7 separate regions of the Homo sapiens genome follow, and all the other regions are linked to region 3. The links are contacts of gene promoters, found by promoter capture Hi-C in blood cells and fetal thymus (Javierre and others, 2016). All regions are on one chromosome and are shown on one strand. The core of a region is centred on a gene start or on the middle of the fragment in contact, and the rest is flanking DNA. Distances in the headings are between cores, read along the strand shown. Region 1 overlaps USP3 (ubiquitin specific peptidase 3). Region 2 overlaps LINC02568 (long intergenic non-protein coding RNA 2568). Region 3 holds the start of CIAO2A (cytosolic iron-sulfur assembly component 2A). Region 4 has its middle 43 kb from the start of USP3. Region 5 overlaps USP3 (ubiquitin specific peptidase 3). Region 6 holds the start of LACTB (lactamase beta). Region 7 overlaps APH1B (aph-1B gamma-secretase subunit).

The links. Contacts are between HindIII fragments. The CHiCAGO score rates a contact against its expected background, and 5 or more counts as called.
Region 1: a contact is called between a fragment that was not itself captured here and the fragment with the promoter of CIAO2A in region 3, in 6 of 17 cell types (fetal thymus, naive B cells, total CD8 T cells and 3 more). The highest score is 8.8, in fetal thymus.
Region 2: a contact is called between a fragment that was not itself captured here and the fragment with the promoter of CIAO2A in region 3, in 1 of 17 cell types (fetal thymus). The highest score is 5.5, in fetal thymus.
Region 4: a contact is called between a fragment that was not itself captured here and the fragment with the promoter of CIAO2A in region 3, in 1 of 17 cell types (naive B cells). The highest score is 5.5, in naive B cells.
Region 5: a contact is called between a fragment that was not itself captured here and the fragment with the promoter of CIAO2A in region 3, in 1 of 17 cell types (total B cells). The highest score is 5.4, in total B cells.
Region 6: the fragment with the promoter of LACTB here is called in contact with the fragment with the promoter of CIAO2A in region 3 in 5 of 17 cell types (fetal thymus, non-activated CD4 T cells, total CD8 T cells and 2 more); the score reaches 10.5 in fetal thymus.
Region 7: a contact is called between a fragment that was not itself captured here and the fragment with the promoter of CIAO2A in region 3, in 1 of 17 cell types (fetal thymus). The highest score is 5.7, in fetal thymus.

Annotation. Positions count from the first base shown.
Region 1 is chr15:63,508,398-63,511,424 of GRCh38, forward strand. The region is part of intron 1 of USP3 (ubiquitin specific peptidase 3); the gene reads left to right. Among named protein-coding and RNA genes, the nearest start is that of USP3, 5.3 kb to the left of the region's middle. The HindIII fragment of the contact is 168 bases long and covers 1,269-1,436 here.
Region 2 is chr15:63,436,087-63,439,038 of GRCh38, forward strand. It overlaps LINC02568 (long intergenic non-protein coding RNA 2568), which reads left to right. Exons shown (of 7, transcript NR_120375.1): 7 at 877-1,450. Among named protein-coding and RNA genes, the nearest start is that of LINC02568, 47 kb to the left of the region's middle. The HindIII fragment of the contact is 1,207 bases long and covers 1,033-2,239 here.
Region 3 is chr15:64,092,403-64,095,242 of GRCh38, forward strand. CIAO2A (cytosolic iron-sulfur assembly component 2A) reads right to left here and starts at 1,436. Exons shown (of 5, transcript NM_032231.7): 1 at 1,243-1,436. The coding sequence starts at 1,366. RefSeq lists enhancers at 511-1,073, 709-758, 1,119-1,848. The HindIII fragment of the contact is 2,171 bases long and covers 981-2,840 here.
Region 4 is chr15:63,460,231-63,463,301 of GRCh38, forward strand. No RefSeq gene overlaps it. Among named protein-coding and RNA genes, the nearest start is that of USP3, 43 kb to the right of the region's middle. The HindIII fragment of the contact is 2,296 bases long and covers 533-2,828 here.
Region 5 is chr15:63,541,690-63,544,714 of GRCh38, forward strand. All of the region lies in intron 3 of USP3 (ubiquitin specific peptidase 3), which reads left to right. Among named protein-coding and RNA genes, the nearest start is that of USP3, 39 kb to the left of the region's middle. The HindIII fragment of the contact is 3,441 bases long and covers 1-3,025 here.
Region 6 is chr15:63,120,354-63,123,227 of GRCh38, forward strand. It overlaps LACTB (lactamase beta), which reads left to right and starts at 1,508. Exons shown (of 6, transcript NM_032857.5): 1 at 1,508-1,875; 2 at 2,283-2,349. The coding sequence starts at 1,519. LOC107984798 (a long non-coding RNA gene) reads right to left here and starts at 1,414. Exons shown (of 2, transcript XR_001751584.1): 1 at 387-1,414. RefSeq lists silencers at 1,397-1,976, 1,997-2,066, 2,077-2,266. The HindIII fragment of the contact is 2,300 bases long and covers 519-2,818 here.
Region 7 is chr15:63,280,525-63,283,686 of GRCh38, forward strand. All of the region lies in intron 2 of APH1B (aph-1B gamma-secretase subunit), which reads left to right. Among named protein-coding and RNA genes, the nearest start is that of APH1B, 4.5 kb to the left of the region's middle. The HindIII fragment of the contact is 2,329 bases long and covers 300-2,628 here.

The DNA.
Region 1 (3,027 bases), core at 103-2,602, 580 kb before region 3:
AAAAAGTTAACAGTCTAATCTAGCTGGGGGAGAGACAGGAAGCTAACTAGTTAGAAGATACATCCATGTGGTTTAAGGTAAATGTTGAAAATAGCTATCTCCTAATAACGTAAAGGCTGATTTATGTCTAATTGTTGCTTAAGGGATTCTAGTTTAAAATGAAAAAGTTTTAAATAAAAGGGCATTCTCTCAAGCTTTTTGTTATGTGCACATACCAGATGTTATTTTCAGAAGTTGGAGGCTTGGGCATTCCTTATTTTTGTGGGTAAAAGAGTTTAACCAGTGGGAAAAAACAAAAATTGTTTAAAAAGATGCCCTGAATGCAAGTGTTTTGATAACTAAGGAAAGCCAAGGACCAAGCATTTGAACTTGAGGGTTTGGGTTAAACAGCCAGTTAAATTAGAGATATTTAGTAGGATAGGCATGCTAATTTTTCCCTGATTAATTCTTCAATGAGTTGAGAGTGCCTCTTTAAGTTTTCAGTACACACTTGCCTTCATATTACTCTACCCAAGAAAAGTAAGTGTAGATCAAGTAAATGTTCTGCAATTTTGCACCAAAAACTGCAGATAATTCCACCCAAAATACTGGAGATAAACCCTTTTTTAAGAGATCCATTCAGTAGGATGAGGTGTTGATTATTGGTTGTCAGTGGTAATAAATTTGTAATGGACTGATCAGGTTGTGATAAAGAGAAGAAATCAACCTTGATGGAGTGATGGGTTATTTTGTATCGTATTTCTCCACAACCTACATTTAACACTCGTTTGCCCAGTGGACTAAATTTTCTAAATACAATCAGTCATTTCCTTGTCATTAGGTCAAATGCTTTTACTGCTTTTTAGTAACATTCTATGATGTCTTTATTAAGTGCCTAATACTTAATAGAGCAATTAGTAAATATTTGCCTGATAAATAAAGGAACTATCACTTAGATGTGTCTGGCAGGGTCTTTATGTTGAAAATAAACGCAGAGTGAACTTTCCCCAGAATGCTTTCACTAGCCCGCACTCCCAGTATTTTAGTCAGTAAACGTTGGCTGGATTGTGAGCAAATGACCATCTGCAGTGTTGTTATCACAATGAATTTGTGTTCTTTTGGCAGTCTGTATTTATAGATGGGCAGGTGGACAATTTAGTTGTAAATGTGGATGGGGTAGTTAAAAATCAGTGGACAGGTGATACTTTTTTCACATTAATTCTAAAAAGTAGTATTTGAGTTTTATATATCCTTCTGAAGAATTTAAACTTTTTTGGTAATATTTATAAAGCTTAAGTCAAATGTCTTTCTAGTCTTTCTGCAGTATTCCTCCCCAACCCCGTCCCCCAGAATCTTAGAGCAATCTCAGCTTATTTCTAGAGTCTCTAAATGATTGCTCATGGATGTGAAATGTGTGAAATTTAGAATGTGCTCCATGTATGTGTTTTGTTTAAAGAAGCTTCAGTATAGAGATTGAGCCTAACATTTACTTGTTGTGAAGAAGTTTTGACACATTGATGAGAAGTTCTTTCCCTAATAATATGCTTAATAGTGTATACAGAACATCCTTCATGGTCTAAGCAGAAGAAATGATGGAGTTGGGGGAAGAATTCGAACTCTTTGGTGTGGTTTCCTGTTATTTATCCTCAAAATAATTTATTCTCATTCTTTGCTTGTACACCATTAGCCTTAGGCTCGTGTAACAGCCTCCTTTTTCCTCATTGAAATGTATGTAATTTCCTTCTCCACTGGAATATAAAAGATTGATTTTGGATCCTTCAAGCTAGATTTAGAAATACTTATGTTTTTATAGTGTTTGCAGCTCAGTGAGTAGACCAGTGAGTAATTTAGTGTGTAGCTCAGTGAGTCATTTAAATTCCTGTTTTAAAATTTGAGTCCCTCTTCCATCAGGAGCTGATTAACATGTACATTTCCCCTAACCTAACCTGCTCGTTTTTTTTCTTTTTGAGCTTTTCTCCCCTTCTTGAGCTTGTTTGTTTGTTTTTAATATTTTTCCTTCTTTGAAAACAAAATGTTAGTCTCCTTTGATTAAGCTGCAGTCTCTGACCTACATACATACAGGTTTGTGTTCAACCAAGGCATTGAAATAAATAGATTTAGTCGGTAGATTATCATTGTTTGAAGTGGAAAAGGTATGCTGTTTAACATATTTTGATATTTTATGTTTATTCATTGCCTCTTTAGACAGGAGAGCAATTGCATTCTAGGTGTGTTAATAGAGCTTTCCTGGACAGATGGCTTGGAAGGAAGTACTTTGATGGGTTCTCAGTAGGGGCTAGTACTTTTTGGAGGGTGTGTTTGTGATTAAGCTTACCTTGATTGACAGTTTAGAATGCTGAGAATAGCATTAACAACAGTAACAGCTTGTTCATCTTACCTAGAATTGTCTTGTGCCAAGACCCCTCAAGATGCTCTGAGATTTCTGTGTAGTGGTTTCTTTTGAGAATGTAGGTAAGAATAGGTGTCCTTGAGACTGAAAAGAAATTCACCTAAAATTGTTCATTGTGGTTGTATCTTAAAATCTTTGGGGTCGTTGAATGAACTTTGGCTTAGAAATTTGTAGAGATCGTCTTTTTAACTGCTGTGAGTCTGCAGATGTGATTATCTATAGTAATTCCAGATGTTTTCTCATCTATTAGTTTTACTGAGTAGGAAGATAACTGAGAACAACATAAAGTAACTTCAAAGCAGTTTGCTAGCATTTAATCCTGACTAATTTAATTAATTATTCATCCTTGTAGTTTTTCCTATTTTATTGATTATGAAACTGAGACAAAGGTTACGAGTTGCCCAAGATGCTTGGGGAGTATTAAAGATAGCCCAAAGCTTAAACTCTAACACTGTTCAGACTTTTAGCTTGCTTTTTCTTAAAAAAAAAAAAAAAAGAGTCTTTATTTTGTTATTCAGTAACTTAATGCTTGACAATTTAAAAAATACAAAATGTTTGGAACACATACTTTAAATAATTCCTTTGAAGATTTTTGATATGAAAATATATTTTAAGTTCCACATCTCAAAAATTACTTA
Region 2 (2,952 bases), core at 386-2,885, 660 kb before region 3:
AAGCTCACTTGTCTTTCAAGTCACCCACTTAGCCCTCTTCCAAGTGTACTTTCCTTCCTTTCATTCCTGCTTTAAAGCTTTTTAATAAACTTTCACTCCTGCTCCAAAATTTGCCTCGGCCTCTCCTTCTGCCTTATGTCTCTCAGTCGAATTCTTCCTTCTGAGGGGGCAAGAACTGAGGTTGCTGCAGACCTGTACAGATTCGCCGCCAGTAACATTTCTTGTCTGTCTACCCCACTAGAATGTCAGGCCTTATCACTGCTACCGGGATAATGTAGAGGGACCTATCATGTAGAGGGACAGGGTACACATCTGTAGATTTAGTAAGTGGAGAAATATGAAGTCCGGACTCATTGGCCATGAGAGTTCTGGCAAGGAAGAGGCCAGTCAGGACAGCTGCTGGAGGGCTGGACCATGAACAGGACCTCTGCCAGTTGAAGCATGCCCTCTGCTTTAGTGCCTTGTTACATATACCCTGGTCTACTCATCACTCATGGTGCCATCAGACACTCCATCTCAGAGCCTGCAGTGAGTCCAGAAGAGAACAGGGCCCCAAACAGAAGGAAGTCCTGCAGTCACTCAGCCCACCATCCCAGGAGGCATTGCACAAACTCTGCTGTCATCAACATGCCCCTGGGGGTCTTACACTCCCACCCTGGACTAAGACCTCCTCCTGATGCCTCACAGTGCTCTCCGTGAGAGGAGTGTTGAGAAACACACTTCTAGGGGGTTCTGCTGTCCCCTACAGACCAGCGCTCAGTCATTCCTCCTGGATCTAGCTCTGGTATGGCTTTGCAGGCTTCACTCACAGTCTTGCCCTGAATCTGGGCTCCACTGTCTCCCTGTCTGACACATCTGATCTCTCTGTTTCAGTAGAGCTCCAACTACCGTCTACTTCCTGCAACTGGCCTGCTGCCAACTCCCCAGATCTCTTGTGGAGCTGCCGGAAGAGACAGCCTGCCACAGAAGAAAGCAGCCCTCCTCTTTCATGGCCTCCCACATCTTGAAACAAACACAAGCAAACAAAACAAAAGCTTGAGTCCCAGCCTGATTCACCAGGTTTGGTTCCCAATTGTTGAAATTCCCTTCCCAGGGCTCTCAGAACCAGGGTTGGCTGGAGGGGTGAAAGAGGCTGGCCCTGAGCCCAGTAATAGGACACCAAGGGGGAGCTAAAAGCTGGGATCTGGGGTGAAGATGGGGTCTTCCAAGCTGGGAGGCAGACACCAGGCCAGAGCAACCGGCCTGCCCCAGCTCAGGCCTCTTAACCCATGCAGGGCAAGAGTATAAACAGAGGCCACGGACCACATGCCTCAGTATTTAAACTTATAAATCAAGCTAACATAACATGAAATCAAATATGTTCTATCCTCCTAGCTTGACAAATACTTTCATAACGAGATGGAATGCCAGGTTCAGATTTAGAATTTTCACACTCCTTAAAGTTCCAAGTCAAAATACAGCATTAGGGGAGGGCCCCCAACCTCGAGGTCTCCCCTCCCCCATTTTCTTTCACTCCCAGCTCTGTCTCACACCACGAGGGATCTTGGGTGAATGCCCCTCGATACCCCAGCCCCCCACAAACAGCTGCCCTTTCCCCCCTTGGCCAAGGGTAAGCACAGCAGCAGGGCAGTCTGCCCTTGGCTGGAGAGATGGAAGGAGAGGCCACACGGGCCCTGAAAATGCATTTGGGGACTCTTGGGCAGGAAACTTGGGAGTTTCTGGAGCCTCAAGGAGGGTCTAGTGGGACAGAGCCACTTGGGCCCATGAGATCCTTGACCCATGGAGAAGGGTAGGGCTAGAGGAGGGCCAGGGCAGGCCCTATGAACAGAAGAACCTAGAGTAACTGCCCTGTCCCCAGATCCTGTCACCGAGCAGGTATACTTGGGAGGGTATTGGAGGGTGGAACCCAAGGGAGCTTGCCCAAGGCACTAGGAAAGAAAAGTGTAAACCTTGTTAGAGAATGCTAAGGATAGCTGTTAAAGCCTCAGAGATTTTACTCATTTTTGGCTGTTTCTAAAAATCTTCCCCCAAAGGAAGATCTTGCTCTCATTGAGGATCTGAGAAAGAATTCTCTCCAAGTAGTTTCAAAACATTCTGATGTAAAAACTCTGGTGTGTTAGTCAAAAATAAATTTTGTTGCTTGATGGCTTCACCATTCACAAAATATTCTATCCATCCAATTTAAAAATAAGAGCAGGGTATTTAAAACTCTTTCAATAAACACAAATTAAAACAATGAAGCTTGAATTATTGTTTTAACCTTGTTTTTTAATTGTGATCAGCTTAAGGGAGAGATATCAGGGGAAATGGGAATAAAAAGATACAGTGATTCAAAAATAAATGAAATGGGGCCAGGTGCGGTGGCTCACATCTATAATCCCAGCACTTTGGGAAACCGAGGTGGGAGGATCACTTGAGGCCAGGAGTTCAAGACCAGCCTGGCCAACATGGTGAAACCCTGTCTCTACTAAAAATACAAAAAGTAGCCAGGCGTGGTAGCATGCACTTGTAGTCACAGCTACTCAGGAGGCTGAGGCAGGAGAATCGCTTGAACCTGGGAGGCGGAGGTTGCAGTGAGCTGAGGTTGTGCTGAGTACCACTGCACTCCAGCCTGGGCAACAGAGTGAGATGCTGTCTCAAATAAATAAATAATCTCAGCAAACTAACACGGGAACAGAAAACCAAACACCGCATGTGCTTACTTGTAAGTGGGAGCTGAACAATGAGAACACACGGATGCATGGTGGGGAACAACACACACTGGGGCCTGTGGGGTGGGGGCAGGGGGAGGGAGAGCAACAGGATAAATAGCTAATGCATTCAGGGCTTAATACATAGGTGACGGGTTGATGGGTGCAGCAAACCACCATGGCACACATTTACCCATGTAACAAACCTGTACATTCTGCACATGTATCCCAGAACTTTAAATTTAAAAATTTTTTTTTGGAA
Region 3 (2,840 bases), core at 186-2,685:
TTCTAGATCCCCTCAGTCAGAGACTAGTATCTCCCTTTCTCTGAATTTCTGTATCTCTTATTCAGTCTACAGCCTTCTATTACATACTCTATTTTTGCATATATGGGTTTCCTTCAATATCAGTTTGAAGACTAGAGTCACTCTCTTCCAAAGTTGTATCTCCAGTGCCCTACCATCCCTAGATTATGTGGACAGAGATCTGGCAGGACAGGGATGTGGTCTGCTTTGTGGAGATCATTTTACTCACAATTATCATCTGCCTGGAGGCTGATTAGGTAAGTCCTGCCTCTAGTAAGAGAGGTCAACCAAATTAGCTCCCAGAGTATTTCCTAACCCTGGCTTCCTTCTACTGGCCTATAATCCTTACTTGAATTATATTTGTATTCTATGGTTAGATCTCTCAATATTATATCCAGTCTTTTCGGTTTTCAAAAACAATACAACATAATTAAAAAAACAAACAAACAAAAAGTTGTAAGGCAATTGTGAAGTGGTGGAAAGTGCATTACGGTTAGAACCAGTAGGCACAGCCTTTGCTTTTTGGCTCTGTTCCTTACTGGCAGTGTGACCTCCAGGTAGTTCTTTAACCTTTGTTTCCTCATTTGTACAATAAAGATGGCCCCAAGGGTTAAACAGAAAATATTTAATATGCAACATGGAAGAGTGTGTATGTGTGTGTGTGCGTTATGTGTGTGTACACAAGGCCTTGCTACAAGAAGCCAATCTCGTTCTCTTCTTTCGGGGACCTCTGCTTACTGACTTTGCCGGATAGAGTGGCTGTGACCTTGGGCCAGTCCCCAACTCGACTGTCACCCACAAGCGCCCTCAGCGGTAGCAAGAGTGCGTGTCCAGGAGCTAGAGAACGAGGCTCTAGTAGTGCAATCAGGCCAGCTTTGCTTCCTAACCAGGCACCCTAGACTTGTGGTCTCCCCACAAGTCTTGGAATGGTTACTAAGACGTAGGCCACACGTGGAGAATGAAGCTTTTAAGACCTCTGGGTTCGGCTTGCCCCAGGTTTACGAAGAGCCCAGTTCCCAGAAAGACCCACACCCCCCACGTGACTTAGGACCCCGAAGAAAGCGCCTGCTACGCCCCGGACAAGATCTGGCCAAAAACAAACAAACAAACAAACAAAAAAAAAGGTCTCCCCTCCCAGCCCTCAGGTGAGGCCATCATCCCCGCACCCCTCAGCTCCGGCCTGCACCTATAACGCCAAATGCTGTGCTGGGTAAAATTAATTACCATAAACTTCTAGCGCTTTCTCTTCCATGATCCGGGGCTGCCGGGCAGCTCCCGGCTCAGAGAGGCCGGAGAGCCACAGGACTCTGCTCAGCGTCCAGGAGAGCAGCCCGGACACCCGCTGCATCTTCACGCTCAGCCATCCCTGGCGACTGTCCCAATCGCGCCACCGTCTCTCAGCAGCCTCGGGATTGATCAACTTCCTGGTCTTCAAATGGGCCGAGACAAGCCTAAAGGTTCAGGAGAGCAGAGAAAAGGCGGGGCCAGACGGAGTAGCTCGAAGGACCTAGGGAAGGGGCCTCAAGGACTACAAGTTCCAGCGTGCTTTGCTCGATTTCGGCGGGACAAAAACAATCTTCGCGGCTCGTCAGCACATTGCATGCTGGGATGCGTGAGCTATTTTCTTCGGAAGGCAGCGAATTGTATTCTGGGACTTGTAGTGTCCGCCTGGTAGAAGTGGATGTAACGGTCTGTTAACCGCGACTGACTCACTCAGTATCCGTGATAAGTTAAAGATGAATCCTGAAGGGGTAGGGGAAAGGAGATCTTGAGTTCTCCAGCACGGAGACTCTTTACAATTATTTCTCCGCGGGATCCGCTGACAGCCAACGTCTTTCTTACTTCCTGATCGGACAGGAAGTAGGTTTCAGTTGCTGTGAAAAGGGATGTCATGGGAAGCCAGTGAGGTAGTCAGGTATGGCATGGGGAGGGCTTTTTGGCTTTCTCGTCTCCTAAGGGACTCAGTCCAGCACAGCTTCCCACCTTTGAACGAATATTTCTGCTAATGGCCTCCAAAGACAACTTAGAACATAAGTTTTCCCGTGTCTAATGTGTACAGTGGTGACATAATGGAGATCGCCATCCTTAAAAGTGTATCTTGGCCGGGCGCGATGGCTCACGCCTATAATCCCAGCACTTTGGGAGGCCGAGGCGGGCGGATCACCTGAGGTCAGGAGTTCGAGACCAGCCTGGCCAACATGGGCAAACCCCGTCTCTACTAAAAAATACAAAAATTAGCTGGGCGTGGTGGCAGGGGCCTTAATCCCAGCTACTTGGGAGGCAGAGGCAGGAGAATCGTTTGAACTCAGGAGGCAGAGGTTGCAGTGAACCAAGATCGAGCCATTGCACTCAAGCCTGGGGGAGAAGAGCGAGACTTCCCTCAAAAAAAAAAAAAAAAAAAAAAGTGTATCTTAAGCCCTCTGGTGTTCGTGGGTGTGATGGATGCCAGTAACAAAATCGATTTTATTTTATCCATCCATCCCTCCGATCAAATTTGTAGGTACTAATTTGCCATAGGTGATCCATAGGCATGGAAGATACAAAGATAAAACGCTGCCCCCGCCTTCAAACAGCTCACATGACCTGTGAGGGAGTCCATCCCTGAATTTGCAGTTACAACCAAACTAACTAAACCTCTTGTCAAAGTTGGTGACAAATGCCATTTCTATTGAGAAGATAGGATTATCTTGCAGAATTGTCCCATGCTAACATGCCCATTTATCTTTAAACTCCAGTCTTGTTTGTCTAGTTAATGTAGGCCTTAGGATCACCAGACAATGAATTGCTTAGGTCCCAAGGAAATTTTGGTCAGGGTTCAATAA
Region 4 (3,071 bases), core at 431-2,930, 630 kb before region 3:
AGACCAAGAACCCACCAATGCCAGACACGCTATTGGTAACTCACATTGTTCCTGAGGTCATGGATTCCTAACAACCACCACCATCACTGCATCTACTAATGCCACTGGTTGCTTCGGGCTCCCCTAAGGACAAGGGTCAGGGTGTGGTGCAGTTCCCATCCTTCGCGCTGCAACACGAGCTGCAGTAGCTCAGGCACCCAGACCTGAGGCAGGTCTGGCTTTCTGAGAAGTCCTCCAGAAGGGCTCCCAGGGAAACAGCCTAGAATGCAGGGGAATCAGCCTCCCAAAAGGTGAACTTTGATTAATGAGAGATAGGAGGTGGGCAGGCACTGGCAGGTAGAGTGCTCTCCTCTCCTCCAGGGTCTCCACGCAGCCTGTCCAGAGAAACCCCGCATGGCCCCTGATCTGCTCTGGCCCCTCCACACCTCCCTGGATCTGTGGTTCCTGCCTGCCTGCCTGCCTGCCTCATTTCTCTTTGTTCTCCACTCTTGCTTCCGTGAGATGAAACCAACCAAAAAAGCATTTGTGCCTAAGCTTGGCCTCTGGCTGTGTATTTTGGGATCTCAAACTAAGACAAAGAGAAACTAATATTTGTGGGTCCCTATTATGTGCCAGGCACCGTGAACCTTACCCAAGTTATCTTACTTCATCCTTACGAAAACTGTAAGGTAGTGATTATTAACTCAGTCTTCCAGATAAGGAAACTGAAGAAAGAGGAAACCGTGGAGCCAGCTATTAACTGGTGGAGCGGGAAATGTGAGGCAAAATCAAACATTGAAACATGCGGTGCCCCCTTCGGTTTTGTACCTTTTGTGGCTCCCTAGTGTCTGATCCTTTGGGGAGCCTGCAGTTTCGTCAGTTACATCCTGCAACAGTTTGGGATAGGTTGAAACCTCAGCAGCATCTGACCCATAAAAGAATGTTACTGCGGGGCCTCCCTAAAAGACAAGGGAGGAATCAAGAGAATTCCAAGAAAGGCGTCCGAGCAGGAGGTAAGACAGTAGATTTGAAAGCAGGACTGAGGGAGCAGGAATGGGAAGAGGGGCCCAGCCCCAGCGGGTCAGGGGCCGGACTAGGCTAGCGAGGCCCAAGTGCGGTGGCCCCATGCAGAGATCCTGGCTCGGTGCAAAGGAGATGCCGCTCCCACCGTCTGCAGGAGGCAAGGGCTCCCCTTCCCCGGCCAGGAGCCGGGTGCAAGAGGAGCCTGGGGAGGGAGCTCCAGGCCTGGAGCAAAGGCTCCTCCTAGGGGCCCGCGGTCGGCAGAGAGCGCGGGACACTCACGGCCATGGAGAGCAGCCCGCCCGGTGAATGGAGCCTTTCTCTGGGCACTTGGCAGAACTCGGGGGCCCTCTGTGCAGAGAGGAGGCCCACTGGAATAGAAATAACCTCTGGCTTGCAGAAGCATTTTGTGGAAAGATTCAGGAGCTCAGTAGGCAGAGCAGTCCCAAGAAAGACATTTGGAATGTTGAAACTTTTAGAAGAAAATCCAGACCGTTTTTAGGGCCTCGGGTAAAAAATCACTCTTAAACAAGACACCAAAAGTTCAAGGAAAAGAGGAAGGGTGACTTCACTAAAATTAAGAACTTCTAGTCATAAAAAAACATGACACAGAGAAGACAATCCAGAGACTGGACTCGATCACTGTAACACCTACACCTGGCAAAGAATTCCTGTCCAGAATCTATTTTTAAAACTTCGACAAATCAATAAGAATGAACAATTTAATTTTTTCAATGGGGAAAAGACATGAACAGGCATTTCAGGGATAAGGAAATACAAAAAGACCACCAACATATGAAAAAATGGTCAGCCTCCTTAGTAATAAGGGAAATGCAAACTAAAATAAAAATTAGATACAATTCCACAGCCACGAGGCTGGCAGAAATTTAAAACACAGGCAATCAAGCAGGGGCAAGGATGTAGAACAATGAGAATTCTCATACATGGTTGGTAGGAGAGTTGATTGTTACCACCACTTGGAACAGTTTGGCCTTATCTGATAAAATTAAAGACACGCATACCTTATGACTCAGTAATTCCACTTCTAGATAAATATTAACTCTCATATATAGGCAGTAGGAGAAATAAACAAGCATGGTTTAAAATAGTCCCAAATTGGAAACAACTCAAATGTCCATTTGCTGTAGGAGGAATAAATTCTAACACAGTCCCATAGTGGAAACTATGTAGCTATGAAAATGAATAAACTACAGCTGTACCCATCAACATAGATCACAGATGTGAAAAGCAAGTTATAAAAGAATACTTACAGTATGATTCCCTTGATAAAAGTTTAGAGGCAAGAAAAACTAGGGATAATACTTATAAGGTAAAGCTCTTTCTCAAAAGTAGGAGAGGCTGAATGCAGTGGCTCATGCCTATAATCCCAGCACTTTGGGAGGCTGAGGCAGGATTGCTTGACTCCAGGAGTTTGGGACCTCCCTGGGTAACATAGTGAAACTGCATCTCTAAAAATAAAAACAAAAAAGTAAACAGGTGTGGTGGCATGTGCCTGTGGTCCCAGCCACCTGGGAGGCTGAAGTGGGAGGATCAGTTGAGCCCGGGAGATCAAGGGTGTAATGAGCTATGATCACACCACTACACTCCAGCCTAGGTGACAGAGTGAGACCCTATCTCAAAAAAATAAAAAGCAAGAGAAAGATTAATGCAAAATCGAGGATAGGAGAGTGAAGAGAATGCATCAGGGAAGAACAATAGGAGCTTTGCAGGCACTGGTAGTATTTTTTCTAAAGTTTAGTGTGCGGTTTGTTTTATTGTTATTCCTTAAACTATACTTACACGTTATATATATATTCTTGTATGAATGAAGCTTTCACCAAAAGCTTTTTTTAAGAATGAGAGTTAGGCTTTTTTCAAGGGCAGTGAGACCACTATCAGAGATTTTTCTATGTAGCTGAGATCCATCCTAGTTGGACTGAGGGTGTAAGAACATCAGGACAAAGGAGCTGGGGTGGGGAGGGGTGCTAACAGGGAGGCCTCACTCTGTGCCAGGCTTTAATGAGCAGAATCTCAATGGGCATCAGATGCTGCCTTGTCAATAAAACACAGCC
Region 5 (3,025 bases), core at 98-2,597, 550 kb before region 3:
AAGCAAATTCTTTTAGATTTTAACCTTTCTCAGTTTGAAATAGGTGAAGTCACTAGAATATCAGCTTGCTTTTTCTTTTCAGTATTACTGTCATTTATAATAAAACCAGATGTCAAATTTGCCCGTAAATATCAAAATGTCTTAGAAGTGAATGAAAAGGAGCTGGTGAAACTTAATGAAGGATCTGTCATGTGTCAGGGGTGTTTGTTGCATAAGAGGTTTTATTTATTTATTTATTTTTGGTATTAGTGTTATGCATGGCTTACTGTATAAAGATAGCTTTGTTGCCAGTAAATTAAAGGACTTGTTTCTTTACTGTTGCATAAAAAATGTTTTATTTGTATGATTATTCCTCCTTGTTTCAGATGAGTGAAGAATGGTTTGCTTTGGGAATATTTTCTTAGTTCTTCAAGGACATGATGTGGAAGTCATGACTTGAGTAACTTCAATAGCACTAACAACAGGAATTGAAAAAAACTTAGAATTTTAAAGCTGAGAAAGAGGTAGAGATTTTTCTCTGTCTTGGGTATGACATATATGTTATTCAGTATGGTAGCAATTGAGCAATTGAATGTGGCTAGTGTGAAGAATTAAGTGTTTTTTATTTTAATTAATATTTAAATAGCACCATGTGACTGCTAGCTACTATTGGACAGTGCAGCCTCAAACTATTAAAATTTAACATTAAGTATATTAATGTTATAAACTTTCAAAACCTTAAGATAGAAATCTAACAGAAACTCCAAAAACAAAATAAGCCAATTTTACTAAATAAAATACTGTAGTTGGAAATAACTATAACTTAAAGCAAATCTAACCCAGTAAGCTATCAAAAAGAAAAATTATATAATTACCAAGTAGAGTTAATTTCACCTGAGTTCTATGAACATATTCATTATTAAAGGAAACCTCAAATTATTGTCCCATTGGAAGCAAAATATACATTTATAAATAGCCATTTCTCGTTTTAAAAAACTAATAACATTGAAATAAACAGAAACTTAAGCTCTTCTAGTTTGCCAAAAACCAGAAAGCAAACATCATATACTAAATGATGAAATGCCAAAGCCATTTCCATTATATCAGAAACGAGACTAATACTTCCTGTCATCATTTACATGATTGTCACTATTATTAAGCATTGTTTTGGTAGTTCTAGCCATTGCAGTAAGACAGTAGACAGAAAGTCAAATAATTGGCATAAATATTGGAAACAAAAAATTATTTCTACTTTGAAATGATACAATAGAATAGCTGGAAAGCCCAGGGGGACTCTAGTAGAAAACAGCAATGAGGATTAAATGTAAGACACTTTGGAAAGCTGATGTGTGAGAAATGTACACAAACTAATAGCTTTCTCTTTATTAGTAGTCATCAGTTGAAAATGGAAATGACCAAGCAAAAATATTCAACAGAATGACAAAACTATTGGTTACACCTAGGAATAAATGTGTTAAAGAAAGGTACAGAGTGAAGGTAATGACCCTTATGAAGAAAACTTGATATTATAAAAAGTAGTCCTTTTCTCCCTCAGTTTTTGTCTTCAAAATGTTTACTTGGGACAGATCGTGGTTTACATGATGGTCCTCAAACATATTGTGAACAACATTAAAAAAAAAAGACACATTTTACTCAATAAGTAACATTTTTTGAGAAGCTACTATGTGCTAGGGACCTAGTTTTTAGTGCAGTGGTCTCCAAAATAATGTACTGGCAGTATGGGAAGAGCGTTTAGAACACTGTACCTTTTTATTTGGGAGGAGAAAAGAAACCTTTGTCAAATATTTAACACCTGCTGCCAGAGGTCTGTAGATTTGATGATTGTGTGCCATGAGTTACACACAGACTCCTAAATCAGTTTCACCTGTGGTGTCCTCATTCTGTTTACTTTGAGCATTTTGCATTCTATATCTGCTTAGTTATATGGATTTATTCGTCCCATATAATATGTGTAGCCACATGGACACATGTTCTAAAAGGTTTTAAATTCTGCAAGATAGTGACGATGATGTAAACACAAGAAAAGGGCAAATGGATACATTTTCCTACTCTGTGCTCATCAAACATATTACAGGATAAAATTATTGGCTATCTAATAAAAACACAGACTAATAAGACCTGATAAGTTGGACAAAATGTTTAAAAATTAACATGAAGATGATAGGAAGTATGAATCTATATTCACTGTCATTAATGTCAAACCTTTACCTTATGGTATATTGTACTTTGAGAAATTATGGCCAGGCATGGTGGCTCACACCTATAATCCTAGCACTTTGGGAGGCTGAGACAGGAGGATCTCTTGAGCCCAGGAGTTCGAGACCAGCCTGGGCAACACAGGGAGACACTGTCTTTAAAAAAAAAAAAAAAGGAAATTAGTTTAATAATAGTATGAAGATATTGTGAATAGCAAGACATTTAATATAGTTTATTTCATCTCTAGCTCATTCTTTAAAAATTATTCTTTTTTGTAATATATAATTTAGATTTAATTGTATATATAATTTATTAATACAAATATATACATATATATATAGAATATATATAGAGAGGGTAGTGGATACTCAGTTTTGTGGTTTATTTTTTAACTTGATTAGGAAGCTGATGAAAATAGCTTGAAGGCTTCTTTTGTAACCAAATGCAGGTCTGGATGCTCACTGCTTGTAGAGTCCAGTTAATATGAGTGAGGTCTGGTAGAAAGAAAGTAACTTTATTAACCAAAACTAGTGAAAGGGGAAGTAGCTGGATTTCAATCCAAAGTTATTGTTTTGACTTTAGTAGACTAGTGTTTTGTCTTTTAGAATTAGAGGGGGCAAGTAGTGCAGGGCAAAAACAGGAAGGAAACGAGTGTTTCTAAAGTTAGAATTTTTTAAAGGAAGTAAACCTACATTAAATTTTAGGACAAGAAAACGATTGAGCCATGCTGTGTGTTTTCATTTTTGGAGAATGGGGGAAGAATGTAAAGATGGAGATGACCGAATGAGGAATATTGTTTTGCCATTAAATAAGTGAATAGTGCGAAATG
Region 6 (2,874 bases), core at 258-2,757, 970 kb before region 3:
TTAAAGAAAAATTATGTACAGTTTAAATAAAAGTGGGCACTCATAACCACCACTGACTGCGTCTTTTACATTTTTCTCTTTATATTTTTTCTCTCATGTTCTTGGAGTAGTGGTGACCCCCACCGTGGGAACCTCCAGTACTATCTTAATAGAGTACATCTGTCCACTATAACTGCAGTTTCAGTGTCAAACGCTCTGGGTCCTAGGATATTCTGGTCTCTTGGAGTCTTGGGTTTTGTGAGTAGCCCCAGAAGCTTTACTTATTTAGCCCCACTATTTTCTTGCTAGGTATGGATACCATTATTGCCTTTTCCTCCTATTAAATAATTATTACCTCAATATATTTATTTTGAGGTATGTATATGTTTACTCAGTAAGTTTATTACCTCAATATGTTTGTCCTGATGGCTTGTCAGTTCAAGTCTGTGAGCTCTCTTCTTTATTCCACCTGCAAGAAAAGACAGGGCCATTTTGTATATGGGGCATATTGCCCCAGTGCTGAAGGTATAAAGCCTACAAGCTTTCAAAGATTGTGTGTGTGTGTGTGTGTGTGTGTGTGTGTATGTATGTATCCCAAAATATAAAAATTACAAAACTGATAAATGTTTAAGTAACTTCAAATTAACATATCAATTTCATTACACGTTAAACTAGGATTTTATACACATTTTACATTTTGTAGCAATTTGAGATTAGGTTTCTTATTTCACAAGAATGTCTGATCATTTACAGATGCTGAGAAATCATAGGTAATTGTAAATTATAATAGTTACTTTTGGATTAAAATTTTTCAAGCACGAAATTTTTAAAAAACACTTTATCTTTTATAGCAAAAGAAAGGTAATATAAGGTCTGGATGTAACTTCATGTCTTTGGTACGGTGTGGAGCTAGAATTCCAGAAGCAATAGATTTTAAAACATCTTTAGGGAAATGGGTGAATTGAAATGAGACATAAGGGAGATGGCAAGAGAGTGAAAAGAAGCGCGTTCTAAAGGGGGAAAGGAGAAAGGGAAAGGAAAGGAGAAAGGCATCTCTAAAGGGAAAGGAGATGCCTGCTGAGCGTCTACTGTGTGCCCTGCGCTGTTCCAGAAGTTGAGGATCCAAAACTAAGTCTAGGCTCCCCAAAGAAGTCCCACTCTGGTAAGGAATCTGACAAGTAGTTAAATGATACAAAGTGTTAACTGTTGTTAAAGAAGTGTGCACACTGAGGGGCAAGATGGTAAGGGCGAGAACTCCCATGGGACGGGAACTAGGAAGGCTTCTGGGAGGTGACGCTTGATCTGAGGGTAAGCAAAGGAAAAAAAGGAAAGAGAGACAGAAAGGAAAAACAAGGAAGAGACAAGAAAAGGGAGAGGAAGAAGGGCTCGATGCGATCGGCGCTCGGGTAGTCAGGCGTCGACTGCTAGGGTCTGACCGCGGTCCCCACCCCCGTCCCGCCCCCTGCCCTTCCCTCCGCCCCGCGCCGCGGCTGGCAGGGTGTGCGTGAGTTTGGTGGCGGCCGGCTGTGCAGAGACGCCATGTACCGGCTCATGTCAGCAGTGACTGCCCGGGCTGCCGCCCCCGGGGGCTTGGCCTCAAGCTGCGGACGACGCGGGGTCCATCAGCGCGCCGGGCTGCCGCCTCTCGGCCACGGCTGGGTCGGGGGCCTCGGGCTGGGGCTGGGGCTGGCGCTCGGGGTGAAGCTGGCAGGTGGGCTGAGGGGCGCGGCCCCGGCGCAGTCCCCCGCGGCCCCCGACCCTGAGGCGTCGCCTCTGGCCGAGCCGCCACAGGAGCAGTCCCTCGCCCCGTGGTCTCCGCAGACCCCGGCGCCGCCCTGCTCCAGGTGCTTCGCCAGAGCCATCGAGAGCAGCCGCGACCTGCTGCACAGGATCAAGGTGCGGCCACTGGAGCGGGGGGCGTAGGGGGCCGGGGATCCACCCCTGTCGGCGGTGCTGTCGGGGGCTGAGTGGACCCCACCCGGGGCGGCGGGGTGCCCGCGATCGGCTTCCGAGAAAGACTTCCCATTTCCCCACCGCCGAGCCGTGGTCAGACGCTCTTGGGGGTTCCCCAAATCTGGGTGGAGGTCACCGCCTGTCTCGGGGACCGCCCCTTCCCCCTAGGGGGCGGACAGGCACATCCCTTGCTGTTAGTGAGTGACCATGGCCTGGGACGAGGTGGGCGGGGCCCAGGTGGAGGGGGCGGGGCCCAGGCTCAGGGGGCGGGGCCTTGGAAGGTCCCCGAGGAGAGCGCTGGGCTTTTTCAGCAGGCCCGTAACTGTCGGTTCTTTCCCCTTCGGTCTTAGGATGAGGTGGGCGCACCGGGCATAGTGGTTGGAGTTTCTGTAGATGGAAAAGAAGTCTGGTCAGAAGGTGGGTTCAGAAAATTGTTGTTTTGTTCTGTGCCAGTTGGTAAATAAAATATTGTTTTACTGGTTAGAGTGGATCCCATGAAATGCTATTGCATTTACATAAAACGATGCATATTGTAGAGAAAACATCTAACATAATAAAGAGTCAGGTGTTTTTAAATCACGGTAAGGTTTAAAATGTGACTAATAAATTGGAGTCATGAGGATGGCTACCCACTCCCACTTTTCTCTTAGGACTGGATTTATTAGTCTGAAAGTTTTATACAGTAGTCCCTCCTTATCCTGGGGATATATTCCAAGACCCTCAGTGGATGCCTGAAAAAGTGGATGATATTGAACCCTGTATATACTATATTTTATCTTATATATACATATCTATGATAAAGTTTATAAATCAGGCATAGTAAGAGATTAGCAACAATAATAAAATAGAACAATCACAACAATACTCTGAGTGGCATGCAATTTAAAGCTTACGAATTGTTTATTTCTGGAATTTTCCATTTAATACTTTCGGACCATGGAT
Region 7 (3,162 bases), core at 214-2,713, 810 kb before region 3:
GTTTTCTGTATTTGTTACTCTTTGCTTTTAATACCAGATACTGAATTCCCTTTTCGTAATGAAGGAATTTAAATTAGGAATTGAAATCCAGGAAGCCATTGCTTAGAAGCAAAAATCATATCTTAGAAAAGTTTCAAAAATGAAATTCCCATTAGTACCTGGAAATATTACATGGGAATAAATAAATATCAAAGGTAACACTGAAATTTCCATGGTAATACAACATCCCTAACAGATGGACATCTAGCTGTGTTTGAATGTTTCTGGTATGTGGCAGTTACTACCATTCTACAATTTTAAGCTTTAACTGTAGAATATCATTAAGGTAACCACATCTACCTCTGCTGGGCTTGGTGGCTCATGCCTGTAACCCTGACATTTTGGGAAAGCAAGGTAGGCCAATTGCTTGAGCTGAGGATTTCGAGACTAGCCTGGGCAACATGGCAAAACCCTGTCTCTACAACAAATACAAAAATTAACTGGGCATAGTGGTCCCAGCTCCTCGGGAGGTTGAGGTGGGAGGATCACTTGAATCTAGGAGGCGGAGGTTGCAGTGAGCCGTGATTGCACCACTGTGCTCCATTCTGGGAGACAGAGCCAGACCCTGTCTAAAAAAAAAACAAACAAGCAAAAACAAAAACTCCCTTCTGACCGCTGCCTTACTCAAGTACCAGGTAAATGAAGTCTCTGCTGCATGGTTATAATTATCTCCCTTTCAAGAATGAACAGTCCTCATTTCTTCACCTGGACCTCAACAGGCATGGTTGTGGCTTCCAAACCTTTCCAAAAGAAAGGCTGTTTGTTCTTTTTGGTCAGTGGACATGACCCTTTTTGTCAGCGCCTGGTTTTTGCCTGTGCTCAGAACCCAGCATGGTATTCTGCAGTGCAGACTAAGTAGTACCCCTGACTGGGCACTGTACTCTTCACAGCTCAGCCTCACATTGCACTGGGTTTTCCTGTCAGTGACATCATTGGCCCATATGCATTTTCATGCCATGGGTCTAATTTTGAAAAAAAAAAAAAAAAACAAAAAAAAACACAATTTCTAATACAGAATTTAAAGTTTAGGACTTGTATGTTCTAAAACCTGAATTATCAGCGTGACAAAATGAGTATGGGCTGTTCTTCACTGCCTTGCATCTTCATGGTTTCCACCTGAAATGGCAACATTTTCCTGGCACTAACTTAGGGCTCCAAAGGACTGTAGCTGAACATAGATCCACATTATTGTTCCTCTTTTTTTTTTTTTAATTTTAATTTTTAAAATTTTCTTTTTACACTGAGGAGCAAGTGTCCACTTTTTTAATGAGGGCAGGAAAGGAGTAGGACCACATGAGGAAGAAATTAAAGCTGTCAGTCTGTAGGCTCGAATGCCAGGAAGTTCAGAGAAGCCTCTTTAGGTTCCTAGGGAAACCATGTGTGCTTTTCTGAAAGGACCTTTGGAAATTTGCAAATGGTAGGACAGACTTGTACTAGCAGGTACGTTTGTTTGCATTTGCAAAAATCATCTTTTACGAGCCTTTAGAATATTCAAAATTTTCCCAGCAAATTTGAGAAATGTTAAATGTTATGTAGATGTATTAAAACAATTTAAGAATTATTATAATGCTTTATTTATGACTGACATTTATATGGATACATTTACATTGCTCTCTTATTCTATATTGCATTCAAATATAGGGAGTTTGGTTTAATCAATACTTTATCTCCACTGCCAAAGTAGGTCTTGAACTTTTAAATTTAAAGTGCTACCTCAGACTTTTGCTATCAGAATTTGGTGCCAAGATTAAAATGTGGAGAGTTTATACCAGTTTTTATAAATATATGGAATTGGATCAAAATATTCATTGCAATCTAATAATAAATAATAGTTTTATTTCATGAGTTAGACCTTAATCACTTAATCTTACTAATCTTGTTCTTACATGAATGAATAGTAACTTTCAGCCTGGCAGAGCCTTGCATAAAGAGAAATTGGCATGTGTGGTAGCCCTTTCTGCAGTAATTTTTTTAAAATCCAAGTTATGTTGCTTAAAATATAATCATATTTTGCCAAAAACATACAGTTTAGACAACTCTATGTTGCTTGAAACTCCTGTATGTTGCTTGAAACTCCTGTATGTTGCCTAAAACAGACATTAGGATTTTTTCTGTTTGGATGGAAACTTTTGTAATTTAATTCAATTTTGTCTTAAAAGGTTGATACCATAAATATTTTGTAATTTTAGAAAATCTTCCATTTATAGAAAAAACATTAAGATAACCATTGCTACAACTTTTAAGCAGCGTGTCTATTTTTAAAAATTCTGAAAATGGCGTATTTAACTTGTATTCATACTCCTTTCTCTCTCTCACACACACATTCGAAAAAGGATAGAACAAATGAGAAAGATGGTGTGATTTAGCAGTAGTTTTTCAAAATTTATATTTTTGAAATTTGAATTGTTTCTTTTTTTGTTCTTGGGAACATAATAATAAATGCAAACAAAGAATTTTCCACTTCAGTAAGATGGACGTGAACCCAGAAACTGATGATGTTTTGTACTTTCTCACTTCCTGATGTTGACATTGAGAACTCTTAGTGCTGTTAGTTTTCCTCCCACGTACTTCCATAACGTAGAATTAGGAAGCTTATTAAACTTTTTAGTTTATTTATTTAATATATTTGTGATAGTAGTACTTTGTTGTATCAAATAGCTAAAATCTTTGATTGATTCACTGATTGACACAGTCTCGCTCTGTCACCCAGGCTAGAGTGCAGTGGCGCAATCATGGCTCACTGCAACTTCCGCCTCCGGGGCTCAAGCAATCCTCCCACCCTCAGCCTCCTGAGTAGCTAAGACTATAAGTGCGTGCCACCACACCCAGCTAACTTGTATTTTTTTGGTAGAGACATAGGCTCCTTATGTTGCCCAGGCTGGTCTCAAACTCCTGAGCTCAAGCGACCCGCCCACCTCAGCCACCCAAAATGCTGGTATTACAGGTGTGAGCCACCATGCCCAGACAATTTATCTCTTAAATTGATTATTTGTCTTTTTATTATTGAGTTGTAAGAGTTCTGTAGATATAAGTCCTTTTTCAAATATGATTTGCAAATATTTTCTCCCATCTGTGTTGTCTCTTCACTTTCTTGATAGTGTCCTTTGTAGCATCAAAGTTTTT